Regions from separate parts of the Homo sapiens genome. Here region 2 is linked to region 1. The links are contacts of gene promoters, found by promoter capture Hi-C in human tissues and cell types (Jung and others, 2019). All regions are on one chromosome and are shown on one strand. The core of a region is centred on a gene start or on the middle of the fragment in contact, and the rest is flanking DNA. Distances in the headings are between cores, read along the strand shown.

Region 1 (7,177 bases), core at 1,229-3,728:
TGCCCTGAGGAGAAAGCAGTGGAATGCCTGATAGGTGGCAAGAGCTGCTGGTGGTCTGGATTTGCATAATTTCTACAGAGAGAAGATACATTTAGGAGCTAGCTTTAACATGACTTGCTAATTGATTGACTCTGGTGGTGGTGGTGGTGGTGGTGAGAATGAAGTAATGTTAAGGTGACTTTCAGGTTTCTGGGGCATTCATCTGGATGGAGGGAAGTATCCACTCTTTAAGACAGTGAATTCAGGAGGAAACAAGTCAGTTTCAAGGGTGGTGAAATTTAATTCTAGACATGTTACATTTGAACATCCAATTTTTAATGACCTGTGGGTAATTGCACATATGGATTTCGAGTTTAGGAAAAAGACCTGGGCTGAAATATGGATGTTGTATATGTCAGCATGTAAATGTAAATGGAATTCATGGAAGAAGATGAAATTATACAAGGAGAATAAAGAATGAGAAAAGGAAATGAGCCAAAACTCCCCAAAATGGTAGCACATTTATATCCCTGTCATATGTCTCATGTCTCAAGAGCAAGCCTCCATACTGATGTTACCTTGCTTATGCATAATGGCATGTGTACAATGGAATCTTTCTTCTTTTTAAAAACTTCAATGAATTATACCTAATTTTCCTTGTATGAAATAGATGGGGGGCCGGGTGTGGTGGCTCACGCCTGTAATCCCAACACTTTGGGAGGCCAAAGCGGGCGGATAGCCTGAGGTCAGGAGTTAGAAACCAGCTTGGCCAACATGGTGAAACCCTGTCTCCACTAAAAATACAAAAAAATTAGCCGGGTGTGGTGGTGGGCACCTGTAATCCCAGCTACTTGGGAGGCTGAAGCAGGATAATTGCTTGAACCCAGGGGGTAGAGGTTGCAGCGAGCCGACATCGCATCACTGCACCCCACTCCAGCCTGGGTGACAGACTGGAGTGTCTCCATCTCAAAAATAAAAAAATAAAAAAAATAAATAAAAATAGATGGGGGATACTGAGCTGGAAAATCCTTACTATGACTGTAGTGTGTTTTGTCTACTCCCAAGCAGACAAAATCATAAATTCAAAACCAAGGTGCCATCATTATAGATATTTTCTAATTATAATTATACATCATCCAAAAAGGTAGTAGCGTTGTTGTTAATGGTAGCTGGAAATAAGAAAATGGGATACCATATCTAAAATAGGGTGTGTTAACTTCAAAGTGAGTCTTTTCCTTCCCCCGTAAGTGGGAGTGATTTGCTACAGTGAAAAATCAATGGGCCTTAGAGTCAGGGTTAAAGTCTCAACTCCACAAGCTATCTCCACTCCTCAATCATGAGCAGTTTACGCAACTCCAAGGACAGACAAGCTTGGGCAGACAGCATGCAATAAACAATGTATAGAAGTGAAAACTTACTTTAAGCTTCCAGGGTTTGTTTTTTGGTTTGTTCATGTTTTCTGTCTTGCTTTTATTTTTATTTTTTTTGCAACAAACACATTAGTTACGTTCTCTAGGTCTATTTCCTTACCCAGAGGAGGAAGGCCCCTTAGCACATGATCTCTGCGGTCTCCATTAGTTTCAACATCTTGTGGCGCTGATCACCTGTAAGTTAAGGAACAAACTTCACTGGGAAGTCCTGTAGCCTGAATCCAGCCCCAAACATCCACTCCCCCAGCTGAGGAGGCCGGGAGGTACTTTTACCCTGGTAGCATTCTCAATCAACATGTGTCATTACTCAAAGCGCAAGTGGACCAAGGTGCATATACTAATTTTTTCCTCCAAGGTCTTAGTTTTCATTTTACTTTGAAATGTCACTGTGACTACTTTTATTATTACTATTACCAGGAATCTATGATTGCCATCGAGGTCTATTAGAAGGTCATCTCCCATCCCCCACCCCGCCCAGCTTTATCCAGTGCACGAAGGCTGGCTATTTGTAATTCAATATACACTTTCCAAAACCACGAGTTTTACGTTTTATTATTGTTTTTACTTTTGAAGCCGATGTATGGGGGAACACCCACCAGCATTAACGTTGAAAGAGCTGTTTTCATTGAAACCACTCTTTCATCTGTGGATGGTAGGATAATTTATCAGTGTCTTTAATTTGGAATTGAAAAGTTTCCTGAAAACACTGCTAATTAAACTTTACTTCCCTGAAGTTCTCCTAAATACCTCCAACTCCGAGAACTAGCCCAGTATTTGCTCACTTCCTTTTGCCTTTCAACTCCATTTGATATATGTTTCCCACGACGTAGTGGAGACTTCTGGCTGGAGAGGCTGGAAAATATAACTCTGAATTTCCTACAATCTCAGCTCCACTTTCTCCCGCGCGTAGGCCCCCGGCTGGAGCGGTGTTATTGTCACGTGGCCACGGGGACGCCCGCAGCCGAGTCGGCCAATGGGCGCGCGTCGGCCTCTACCCGCCCGCCTTGCTACTCCGCCGCGCGGGGACTTGGCGCAGTGCCGCGGGGTGGAGGCGAAAAAGTTTCTTTTGCAGACAAGAAGGGGCTTCGGCGAGCCGACGCTGCTCAAGCTGCAACTCTGTTGCAGTTGGCAGTTCTTTTCGGTTTCCCTCCTGCTGTTTGGGGGCATGAAAGGGCTTCGCCGCCGGGAGTAAAAGAAGGAATTGACCGGGCAGCGCGAGGGAGGAGCGCGCACGCGACCGCGAGGGCGGGCGTGCACCCTCGGCTGGAAGTTTGTGCCGGGCCCCGAGCGCGCGCCGGCTGGGAGCTTCGGGTAGAGACCTAGGCCGCTGGACCGCGATGAGCGCGCCGAGCCTCCGTGCGCGCGCCGCGGGGTTGGGGCTGCTGCTGTGCGCGGTGCTGGGGCGCGCTGGCCGGTCAGACAGCGGCGGTCGCGGGGAACTCGGGCAGCCCTCTGGGGTAGCCGCCGAGCGCCCATGCCCCACTACCTGCCGCTGCCTCGGGGACCTGCTGGACTGCAGTCGTAAGCGGCTAGCGCGTCTTCCCGAGCCACTCCCGTCCTGGGTCGCTCGGCTGTAAGTATTCTTCCCGCGGGGGGAGGGGGCCCGGGCCGCTGGAGATTCGAGAAAACAGGAGCCGGCGGGGAATGGGGTTCGGCGTGCAGTCCCCTTTTTGCCGTATAGCTCCTTCTGGCCCAGGCCGCGATCGGCGCTCCGTGGGCGTGGAAAAAGAACTGTCCGGGCCTCAGTTTCCCTCCCACGTGCTTTGCGGGCGGCGCAGGTGGGCTCTTGGCGCGTCCTAACTGGCTGCAGGTAGACCAGGGTTGGGGGCCAGTAACGACGCCAGAGATTGGGGATGAAGTCCTGCGCCCTAAGCTAGCCAAGGGGTTCAAATGCTTGCTCCTGCCAGGCCCAGGGGAGATAAGCGGCAACCTGCACACATCAGGAGTTTGCAGTTCTCGCTGAGTTATGAGTCTGGTTCAGTTTTAGTTTCTAGCTGCGTCAGACTCCTTTTCCTGTTCCCACCCAGTAACTGAAGTCAGGCTTTTCATTTGGGAAGCCCCCTCAACAGAATTCGGTCATTCTCCAAGTTATGGTGGACGTACTTCTGTTGTTCTCCCTCTGCTTGCTTTTTCACATTAGCAGACCGTAAGTTCCCACTCCTCAACCAGATTGTAAAGACTGGTCGGTAGCTATGGAAAGGGCGGAACTCGATTATCCAGAATCAAGGGCGTGATTTCTGTAGCTCCTCAGAACGCCCAGACGGTTTAGGGGAGAGCGCAGGGAGCTCTTATGCAAGTTTTTGGATTTTTAGCTGCGAAGTCTGAAAACCTGAAATCACTGCCAACTGCGTGAAGAACAAGGAAGAAAATGTAATTTAGTTGGAAATGCTGATCTTTTCCAAATGTCATCTCTTTTCTTCCTCAGTCCCAGTTTTAAAATTGGAGTGCTGTAAAAAGTAAACAATCAAAATTTGTATTTTTTAAAGTAGTTGTTCTGTTTAAAATAAAAGTGCACTTCATACGTAATCTTATATTTTGACTTAGCAGAATTGCAATGAAAATTTTAAGTTTTTAAAACAATTCTAGTGAACTATTCCAATGCCCTAATGTGGTAGGAGGTTTGGTCAGGTGTTTAAGAATTTATATTTTAAAATTATTGTGCTAATCTAAATAACTTTTGTGAATGTAGAATTGTTGGCCATCAGAAAGTATATTCCTTGTGTTTTTAATAAGCCTTAGTTTAATAAAGTAGAATTAGTATTGGATTGATATTTAATTTCTTGGGACGTTTTATTTAGTAGTTTTTATTGCAATTGGAAGAGGAGATAAGGTCTTTAACCGAAAGCAGGGAGACTTTCAATTAGTTGTGGCTAATTCTGTTAAATTGCCTCTTGTGGAGGTCATGCTGCCTTATTCATGAGTGAATGGCTCTATTGACAACATATGGAACTGAACATGTAAATGACTGGAGGTGAACACTTAGGAATAATAGAGGGATGAGAAAGAGAAAATGAATACAGTGCTTCCTGGAGTGTATTTAGATATGCTTAGATTATTCACGGCATCTAACTTGTATTCGATAGTTTTTCAATGTCAAGTTGTCTATTGTGATCATGCTAGTGTGCAGTACTTTTTTTCTTTTTTCCTGGATTTAGATGTTTAGAAAAAAAATCTGTGTTGCCCTTGATCAGAAGTTGAGTTGAACCAAAAGGGGTTCGATACCTATTTAAACATTGTCTTAAAAGTAGCTGACCTAATTAGGATTTTGTTTTGCAGATAATTTGGTGGCACACTAAAAACAAATTAGAGTTTATTTGGTTAGCACAGTCTTTAATTACATTTCCACCAGCAGTAAATTGTCTCAATACTAGCCCACATTCCTTAAATGTATGTGAAAATAAGTTCCACTTGTATAAATAAGCACTCAGTCTGTTGTCAGGAACCCTGCTGTGATCACTTATTGGACAGCTCTGTCATTCCTGTACTTCTGTGACTTTTAACCATCTTTGTAGGTGTCACCAAACCATGTGGTCTGGATTCTTTATTGTAAATATTTCTTTTGTTTGTACCTAAAGCTCTAGAGGTCTCCTCTTTCCACTTTTGAAAGGAGCAGAAAAACACGTGGAATTGAGTTTTACTTTCTCTGTTATTTGGTATTTTAGAATAGGTGGTCTAAAAAGCTACTAAAGTTTTTCGTAATTAGAAAAATCGTCTTAAGGAGATGATTTCCGAGTTCAGATATAAATAGAAAAATGCATGTTTTTGTTCCCCATATCTTACCTTCCCTTTCCTTGGGTAATCAAAATAGTAGGAGTTTGTCTTTGGACTGGCTTATGAAAGCACTTTTCAGAAAAAGTTCAGTGTCTATCTTTTGTTTCATTTGTTGAATTTGCAAGTTTAAGAAAAATTACGTGTGTATGTATTTTTTCCACTTTATTTGGTTGTGATTTATTACTATAGGAGTCCCATGTGTGAAAAGTCGAATAGTTTGAGCTGTAAAATAATAATACTGTATCAGTACTCCTTTTAGAAAATAACCTCTAATGCTTTAATGAAAGTGGCTCTTAAAGAGTAACTATGTGAGCGAGACTTTGTCTAAAAAAAAACAACCCAGTAACTACGCCAAGCCTTGCTCACAACTGCCATTAAAGGCAAGCTAGAGTTTATGTCAAGAGTTTGCGCTTAAACAGTTCTCAACCTAAAGAGGAATGCTTGTTAGAATGTTATTTAGCCCAGAGACGGAAAAGTTGCTAAATTGCCAATGAGAACTTCCAGTATTATTAAATTCTCACTGGCATTTCAGAATTATTTGTCTTATGTAGAAATGTTTGAGTTCTCAACAGGACCCAGGCGAAAGTCCCAAAGGTAGTTTCTGCTGGTGTGACTTCTTTAGTGTTGACCTGTTATAAATCTTATGGTCCGGACCACAGTTGGGGGTGGGGTGGGGGTAATAGTCCTTATGGTTTTCACAGCTGTTTTTCTGTATTTTCCAGACTAAAACTTGAATATAGCAGGCTGATTTATGAGTCACTTTGGATCAGTGTCTTAAAACAGCTATAGCCTGGCTTTTTGTTTTTCAGCTTTCCAGATTTGTGCTGAATTAGCAGCTCTGCAGGCCCCAGTGGGATTGCTTAAGAAGCTGTGCTGGATTTGCATTTAAAATTTGACTTGGAAGTCAGATTTCCAAATGCTAAAAGGAAGAAAATGACAGCTTGAACCAAATGTTGCAAATTGATTATTTTCATATATATTTATTCATTTGCTAATATTCAGGAAGAGAGAAGTCTGTCTAACCATATAGAAAGAGTTTGACTTTCAAGTGTTGGCCAGCTGAGCTCTGGGTACAGTTAACACTTCCGTACCTTACTACCTTTCCCATTCATTAACCCCACTACAAAAAGTTTTTGTAAAAGTTTTGTGGGGAAGATGCTATTAATGGAACTCTAAACATGAAGAATCTGCCTTTCTTATTGAATGTTTTATGATCTGGGTTTAAGAAAACATCGACGTTGTACAACTTGAATCTGTTTTTAATGGTCTAGCCATAAAAACAATGTAAGGAAGATTTAGGAAAATGTGACATCCCTTAACTGGAAAGTAATCATTTCTCAAATGTAAACTATATTAAATCTAAATTTAGGTACACTAAAAGTTTCATAGCTGTAAGTATTTAGCAGTAAATGTCATTTAAGGGGTGTTTTTTTTCCTCCTACATATAATGTAGTTTTAATAGTACACAAAACTCAAGAATGGAAATGTGTTGCAATAACTGAAATATTCAAAGTTTCAAGCTCCTGCTTCTGGATCAGAAATGAGGGGTCCCCAGCATGTGCACTGGTCTCTGAAGGGAGTTTCTTATTTTTTACAGGTCTTTTGTAGGAGGAATCTTATCCCATTACTAGTTGAAAAAAGTTAAGCACTCCGTCTCATTTCTCTCACAGGATTGCCCTGTGAAATAATCCTTAAAATGAAGTTAATCCTCAGTTTTAGTGTTTTTTTATTTTTAATTAAAAAGAGAATCACCTGTGTTAAATATTAATGCCAGATTGCTTCCCCTTTCTTTTTAAGACCTGAAACAATAGGGGATGCAGTTTTACGCTGGCTCAATGCTCTTTAGTTAAGTGGGTCCAAATGAGACTTTCTGTTGACTCAGGCTACCTCCCAGGTGAAAGACTCTTTTCCTTGGTTGTTTTTTAAACCATGTGGGAAATCTGTGACTGTCTGGGGTGCTAAAAGCACACAGGTTTTGTTTGAATCCTAACGTGAGT
Region 2 (7,337 bases), core at 3,358-5,857, 520 kb after region 1:
TTATAACCTTGAAGTCGGGTAGAATCCCAACACCCCCACCTTCTAGCCATAGTAACATATTCATAAAATTAGTCTGATATTCATTTTTATTTTTAAATCTTCAAAAGACTATGATAACTAATCTCATAGGTTTGGCATGAAGATTGTATCAGATAATGTGTACAACGTACCCAATACAATACCCAGCTCATAGCAAGCAATTAATAAGGTAAAATATTATCCCAAGTCTAGACCATACAACAGAGACACCATCTATCATGTTCATCACTGTATCCCCAAAACTTAACACAGTGCCTGGTATAGAGTGGGCACTAAATAATTATTTGATGAATGAATCAATTAAACAGTAATGAAATGCATAATTGTATTCAGTATCCCTTCTCTCCCACCTGTTCGCATATAATAAGAAAAAGAGTAAAGTCAAGGTCCATTAGACATAATATCACTATTTAATAGATCTAGAACAGTCAGCTATAATTTAAACAAAACTAGTTCTCAGGGGGACATACAATTAGGTTTAAATAGAGAAAGGGACAATGTTCAAGGCATATTGTGAACACATGGACAGACTGTGCCAGTTGGCCTGCATAATGCACTCTCACTGTTCCTGTACTTCCTGAGCAAAGGCTTCCAAGGTCAGCAGACAAACCTCTGCACAGTCATGTCCTGGAGGAATGCTCTGGGACTCCCATGCCCAAGATGGATCTTCTGCCAGATTTCTCTTTCGTCCCTGAAGGCATTTGTGGCAGTTAAGAATTGGGTTTGTCTGCAAGTAAGAGAGATCTGTTTTCCATGGTTTAGACATGTAAGTTTATTATAAATTACAAAGTCTGAGGATAGCAGCTGCTGTCACTAGCACAGCAGCTCAAAGATTTCAGGGACACTGTCTCTGTGTGGCCTTTTACTCATTATCCCTAGCATCCAAATATCATGTCCACATTGTAGGCATGAAGGAGAGAATGGAAAAGCCAAAAAAGCACAGCATCTGTAGCAGAAAAACAACTGTTTTCAGAAACCAAACACTGTAGTTTATGCATTATTGGCCAAAATTTTATCACATGACCTCCTCTAGGTCAAGAGAGATTTGGGAATGTAGGTTGTTGTTGTTTTCAGCTAGGCATATTGATGCCCTAAAAAAAATTAATGAGTAAAGCAGGATGGGCAATGGATACAGGGTAATCAAACAGCACGCTCTGACCTAGCACTGTACATGTCCTGAGACTGGAATGAATGACAGCCAGGGTTTCTTACGGACATCTTCATTCTTAATTACTCCCTCTACCAAGCTATTTGAAAAATATCAAGTCTTTCAATGACTGCCTAAAGCTCAATTGTCCGTCATCCTCTTGAGTTAGAGAGCTATCCCTGCTGCCAGGTCAGTGACAGGTATTCACCTTGGAGAAAGATGCTTTTAATATAACAGTAGGGTCAGTCTCATCTCCGGTCAAGAAAAGCTGCTTCTCTCCCCTCATAAAAAGGCATCTCCAAATCAATAGAATAAACTGGATCAATATATTTTTCATTGCCTTACATATCAAGAAGGCAAAAGAGCTTTGCCCTTCTGCACAGTGGAATCTGTATAAGGAAGCTTCGCTACATCCTCGTTGCTTTCCAGTCAGTTAAAGATTCTCCTACACATAGAGGGGGAACAACAGACACTGGGGCCTTTAGCAGGGTGGAGGGTGGGAGGAGGGAGAGGACCAGGAAAAATAACTAAGAAGTACTAGGCTTAATACCTGGGCGATGAAATAATCTGTACAACAAATCGCCGTGACACACGTTTACTTATGTAACAAACCTGCACATGTACTCCTGAACTTAAACTTATATATATATATATAACTATTTAAATTATATATAATATATATTACATACATGTTATATAAATTATATATTATATACATATATTTAAATTATATATATTATTTAAATGCTCACAGAGCACCAATATCCCCAGGTGAGTTTGGAAATGTATCTAGAGCAGCCTCTCTAATCTCACAAGAACAAAACAGCCAAAACATAGGCCTCAATACATCTCTTGCAGTGGGAAACCAAAATATAACTCCCACTAAGCATCTCAGCTTCCTGGAAAGTTAGGCGATGAGTCCACTAAATGAAATTCCACTGAAGACACTCAATGAAAATTTCCAAACCCATAGCCTATGAGCCCTTTACTCTCCAAAAGCACAATTACTCCTTTCATATATTGAACCAGGCACAAAACCACACTCTCAGTTCACACACTCCCTCCTTCTAAAACTCAAGCTGATTCTTAAGAGCAGTGGAGATGGTGACTTTATACATACTAATGTGAATACAGCCTAGAGGCCTTGAGCCTTGTTCCCAGCTGTGTCCCTGGAAGGGAAGGTTGGGGAGTGGGGTAATGAGAAAAATATCACAGACCAGAAAAACAAACATTGAATGCCCATCTCACCAGGCTGAGTTCTAGAAGAAGAGTAGATGAGTTCAGTGAAGAAAATCAGACCTTTTGGGACCTGGTTCCACTTACCTCTCTGGCCTCCCCTCCTGAACTCCCCTCCTCCTTCTCTGCATTCAGCGTGCACATCAAGCGTGCTCCCTCTAGCCTCTGCTTTTATGCATGCTGCTCCCCTGCCTGGAACACTCCCCCACCTCATTCCTGCCCTCCGCTTGGCTAACTCCTATGTGTTCCTTAGGACACAACGTGGACATCACTTCCAGGTTAAAGATCTCACCTCTATGCTTCCGCCATTTCCCTTAGCAAGCACTTGCCATATGTACAGCTATAATACAACTCACACTTGCCTGTTGGTAACATCCTTCCTCTCGACCCCACAGTAAATTCCAAGATGGCGGCAGCTGCGTCAGCCTTGTCCACAGGTGCATCCCCCATGTCTGTGACTGTGCCTGCTACATAGTAGGCACTCATTAGAAGTTTACTGAATCAATGGGTATCTAAAAGCAGGTGCAGGTACAGACAGGTGGCCTCATGTTCTCTCTCAGAGCTGGCTGGCCAGAATTTTCTCCCAGTCACATACCTGGATTCACCCTGATACTAAGAACATGCAAATGAAGGGAATAAAATGTGGATAATTCATGGTATAGCGCCACAACCAGGGAAACAACTCATTAACAGCTCAACAGGTGAAAGGTCAGAAGCATCATATTGTACGCTGGCAATTGATGTGTCTGTGTGAGTTTCTTTGTAGATTTGAGGGAAGGGTTGTTTGTCTTTTCTTTTGTTTGCAAGTATTTCTGTATTATTTTCTTCCTCTGATAAGTTACAGCTGGTTTTGTTCCAGGAAATTTTAAACATTTTGTATAAATTCAACCACCAACATGACTTTAAAAACGGATAAGCATACCAAAATCACTGTGGTCCAAGAGAAATCACGACAGCCTTTTGTCATTAAAATAGAAGTACATACTATCACGTTGGGAGAATCTCAACAAGCCAGCGGGAGAAAAGAATGGGGAAAAAGCATAAAATGAGTTGTTTTGCTTCCGATTCAAGGCTGTCTCCCCACAGGCAGAACAAGTCTGGCTGAATCAAAATCTATGTTCCAGGGTATTAGTTTTCTTATCCGAATCAGGCTGTAGGTAACTTGGGGACATCTTTCTCTCTCCTTCAAATAACACCACTAACAGCACCCGTGAATGTTAATGTCGCACTCACAAGCCTTCCATAGCACTAGATCTAAAACTCTCTTAAAACAGTTACCACACCACTTGGCTTTGAAGACATAATAAGTATATGTATCTGTCGCTTCAACCAGTTGTGAACTCCTAGAGGGGAAGAGAGACCACTTCCTTCCACCTTTGAGTCCTACATAACACCCAGCCATTCAGCACATGGTATGCGTAGGTCTCCTGATACTTCTTTGGAGGTGGGAATGTCAAAGAGAATTGGAATTTTAAACATTTAATTGGGGCTCACTAAATATTTTTGACTTTTTAAATGATGTTTAATTCCATGAAAACAACAGCATTCAATTCTAGTAATTATGCTTTTGATTATTTCCCCCCCATATCTTATGACTGTTTTGACACTGTGTAGCTTGAGTATTTTTAAATAGTTATGAAATTGCTTCAAAATCCCATTAACTTTTACCTTTTATCTAGTGTGCTTATTCTTTTAATCCATGAAATTTGGCTAATGGAAATTGATTTATTTCTTCTAAGTGTAATTTTCTTGCCACATCTAACCCACATCCTATGTTACTAAGCTTATAGGTTTGTTATGTAGTCATTTCTGGTGTTAAGTTTGTAAATGATGCTTATATTTCTTATACCTGAAGAATATTGCTTTGCTATCTTTCCAGGAGTAATTAATCTATAATATCTCAGTTCATTTCAATGGGATTTTCACGGTTTTTTTTTTCAGCAGAAAACTAAGTCAGATCATTACTGTCTCATTCAACAAATATTTAAATGCTCCAGATCTCTAAAGGTGATTGTTGCCATTGCCATTTATTGCAATGATTTAGGAACTATTCACTATGTAAAACTGACCTTAGTACTACACTGTGGGAAGGAAGATACCTTGCTTATGCTTGTCTTTGAAAACTCTTACGTGCTATTAACTAGCCATGTGACCTTAGGCAAATCACTGGATATCTCTGAGCTTTAGTTTCCATATCTGTACCTAAGTCACAGATGTCCACTGCATAATAGGGGGTTAAATAAGAGTTTATCTTCTCTTATCATCTTCCTAAAGTAGCTCCTTTCTTCCTATTTCTATTTTATATCCTAAAGGTCTTATTGTCAGACTACTTAATGCTACTTTAATAGGGTCCTTTTAATGGGAGACTCTGAAAGTCTGAAAAAAAATTAATGTTCAAAAGATATGAATGTTGGGCATCAGGAGAGGTGAGAGGGGAGAATTCAGAGGCCAGAGGTACCTCCTGGCCCATCAAACTACATTGTATTGGGCTATGCTTTCTGCCCTTATCTAAGGGCCTGTCCTCTGGGCTCATTCTTACAGTCAAGCAAAAAGAGAACAAAAAGATTGGTTTTTCAGGATATTTGATAGTAAATGAGTCACTTGGGAAACAGTGCAACTTCCCTCTGAATTTTGGCCACAGGGTTCCATACCACTGTAATGAGGAGAAAAGAGAGCAAGATTTTTTAAAAATCTTTAAAAATTAAAGACATTATGGACTCTCAGAAGCAGGTGCCCTACTGGCTATCAGCACATTACTCTTTTGGGGTCCCATTGTCTTTAAAGCTTTAACATGGAGTACTTTGAAATTCAACGATAAAATAAGATGATGGGTGTGGTCAGGTGTATCTTATAGCTTTTCAATTCTCCTGTAATGTGGAGATTTTCTATGAGGATTTTTAAATGCTTCTTACTTTTATTAAGTGTCAGTTCTGCTGCTCAGCGGTAATTAAACTGAAAGAAAAATGTCAAGAATGATAAATTACTACTACAGGTTTATTCTTTCTTTTTTTTCAGAAACTAGTCAGCCCTGTATCATGAGATTCAAAAATATTAACTTTGAGGATATTGAAGAAGAAAGCCTTCCTACTATGTTATTTTCAACAAATGCTGTCTCAAATCCACGTAAATTTTAATGTCTAGGATTTAAATATAATCCATGGTGTCTGAATACCCCCATGTTTATTCAATTTCATTTGGAACTACTTGACCCTGCAGAAGTAAGCTACCACAGCTGAAACAGGCATACGTGGCCAAGTTCGTTATTTGACTAAGAGTCAATAACTTTATATTTCAATATTTAACATAGAGAATGAGGTGGGGGTTAGTGAATAATTTTTCTGAATCAAGTCAATCATCATTAAAGTTTTTTAGAGACAGTTTTCCAAGTGTCTCTGGTATTTTCATCCAAATAGAGCCTTAGGGATCATGAGTAAGAGCATTAAAAGCCAATTACTTTTCTAAGCATTATATTCCAGACTTGAAGTCTCCTTATTTGAGATAATTACATTTCGAGCTTATTTCTCAAACAAATAGAAGTCAAGATAATAAGCAGGATGGAAGTACAGAGCAATTTAAAGACCACCCCCCCCCCCAACAATTGATTAGTTTTGGATGATGGTATCCCATTTCAAGGAGGGAATATGTAAAATCTAGAAATATAGTTTTCAAATCATCAATATTAATAAAAATGTACCCATTTTTCTTACAGAAGCATTACATCAGTCCAATTGAGTTAGACACATCACTGCCTCACTCTCAGCCAAAACTAATTTCCAACATTTAGTTGGAGACAATAATTCCTGTAAAAGTAGCTGAGAGGTAAGAGAAACAACCTACAATAAGACATGGTTTCTGGGAAGTATAGACCCTCCACATGTAAAGATTTGTGTGTGGAAGCCAACAGAGAGGAGCCTTGGTGACTGTGTACATTGGGAATTGTGATGTTTCATGTGTTACATAAATCAAGGAGTTAAAAATATTAGGTAACAAGAATATTAGGAAATAAGAAAGATTTCTTTTCTTCCTTGGTATAATAGAGTTTTACTAGAAGAATACCTTCTGGATAATGAGAATTGAAATGGGAACTGTGCGCATGAAAGAACTTGGAAATGGATATGAAGGGATTTGAATATTACCAAGTTAATGGTCAATTAAAGACTATGCCTTTCCACCCACATCCAGCCGCTGTACGTTTGAGAAGCTCAAGACTAAATAAATCTCACTTTGACAATAAACAAAGAGGAAAAATTCACACTTGGAACTATAGAAAGAAATTTCAGAGAAATAAAAATTAAAAATATTCTAAAGACTACAAAGAAGAGTAGACTCTTAAAATGATTGACTTTTGTAAATAGAAGATATTGACTGATTTGATTGATTGATTTAAATCAGTATTTATTTCATAAAATATAGTCCACACTTGCACTACAATAAATGTTAAGAAAGTTCTACAAGTAGAAGGAAAATGATAACATTAAAATTCAGATTTACAGAAAGGAATAATGTGTGCTGGAGGTGGTAAATATGTAAGTAAATAAAAATATTTTTTCTCATTTGTTCATTTGTTTTATGCTTAAAGCAAAATAACAATAATGTATTGTGAAGTTTAGAACATATGCAGAAATAAAATATATGACAGTGAAAGCCCAAAGAATAGGGAGGGGATACTAAAATTTTGCTGCTGTAAGAGTCTGCATTTCATGTGAAGTAGTGTAATAGTATTTCATAGTAGGCTCTGATAAGTTTTAAAATGTGTATTCTAAACTCTAGAGCAACCACTAAGAAAAATAGCAAAAAGAATAGCAAATAAATCAATAGTTGAAATAAAATACTTAAAATTACTTAATATAAAACAAGGATTTTAAGGAGGAATATAAATAGTGTAACAAATAGAAAACAAATATGAGAAAGTTGA

Evidence for each region. Contacts are between HindIII fragments. The study calls those that stand out against the background at their distance.
Region 2: a contact is called between a fragment that was not itself captured here and the fragment with the promoter of LRIG3 in region 1, in 1 of the 25 tissues and cell types used here (mesenchymal stem cells).

The regions. Positions count from the first base shown.
Region 1 is chr12:58,915,805-58,922,981 of GRCh38, reverse strand. It overlaps LRIG3 (leucine rich repeats and immunoglobulin like domains 3), which reads left to right and starts at 2,478. Exons shown (of 19, transcript NM_153377.5): 1 at 2,478-2,982. The coding sequence starts at 2,747. It overlaps LRIG3-DT (LRIG3 divergent transcript), which reads right to left and starts at 2,278. Exons shown (of 6, transcript NR_183518.1): 1 at 2,192-2,278; 2 at 1,510-1,583. RefSeq lists silencers at 1,594-1,703, 2,322-2,431, 2,852-2,931 and an enhancer at 3,312-3,581. The HindIII fragment of the contact is 9,447 bases long and covers 159-7,177 here.
Region 2 is chr12:58,402,007-58,409,343 of GRCh38, reverse strand. No RefSeq gene overlaps it. Among named protein-coding and RNA genes, the nearest start is that of LINC02403, 320 kb to the right of the region's middle. The HindIII fragment of the contact is 3,419 bases long and covers 2,898-6,316 here.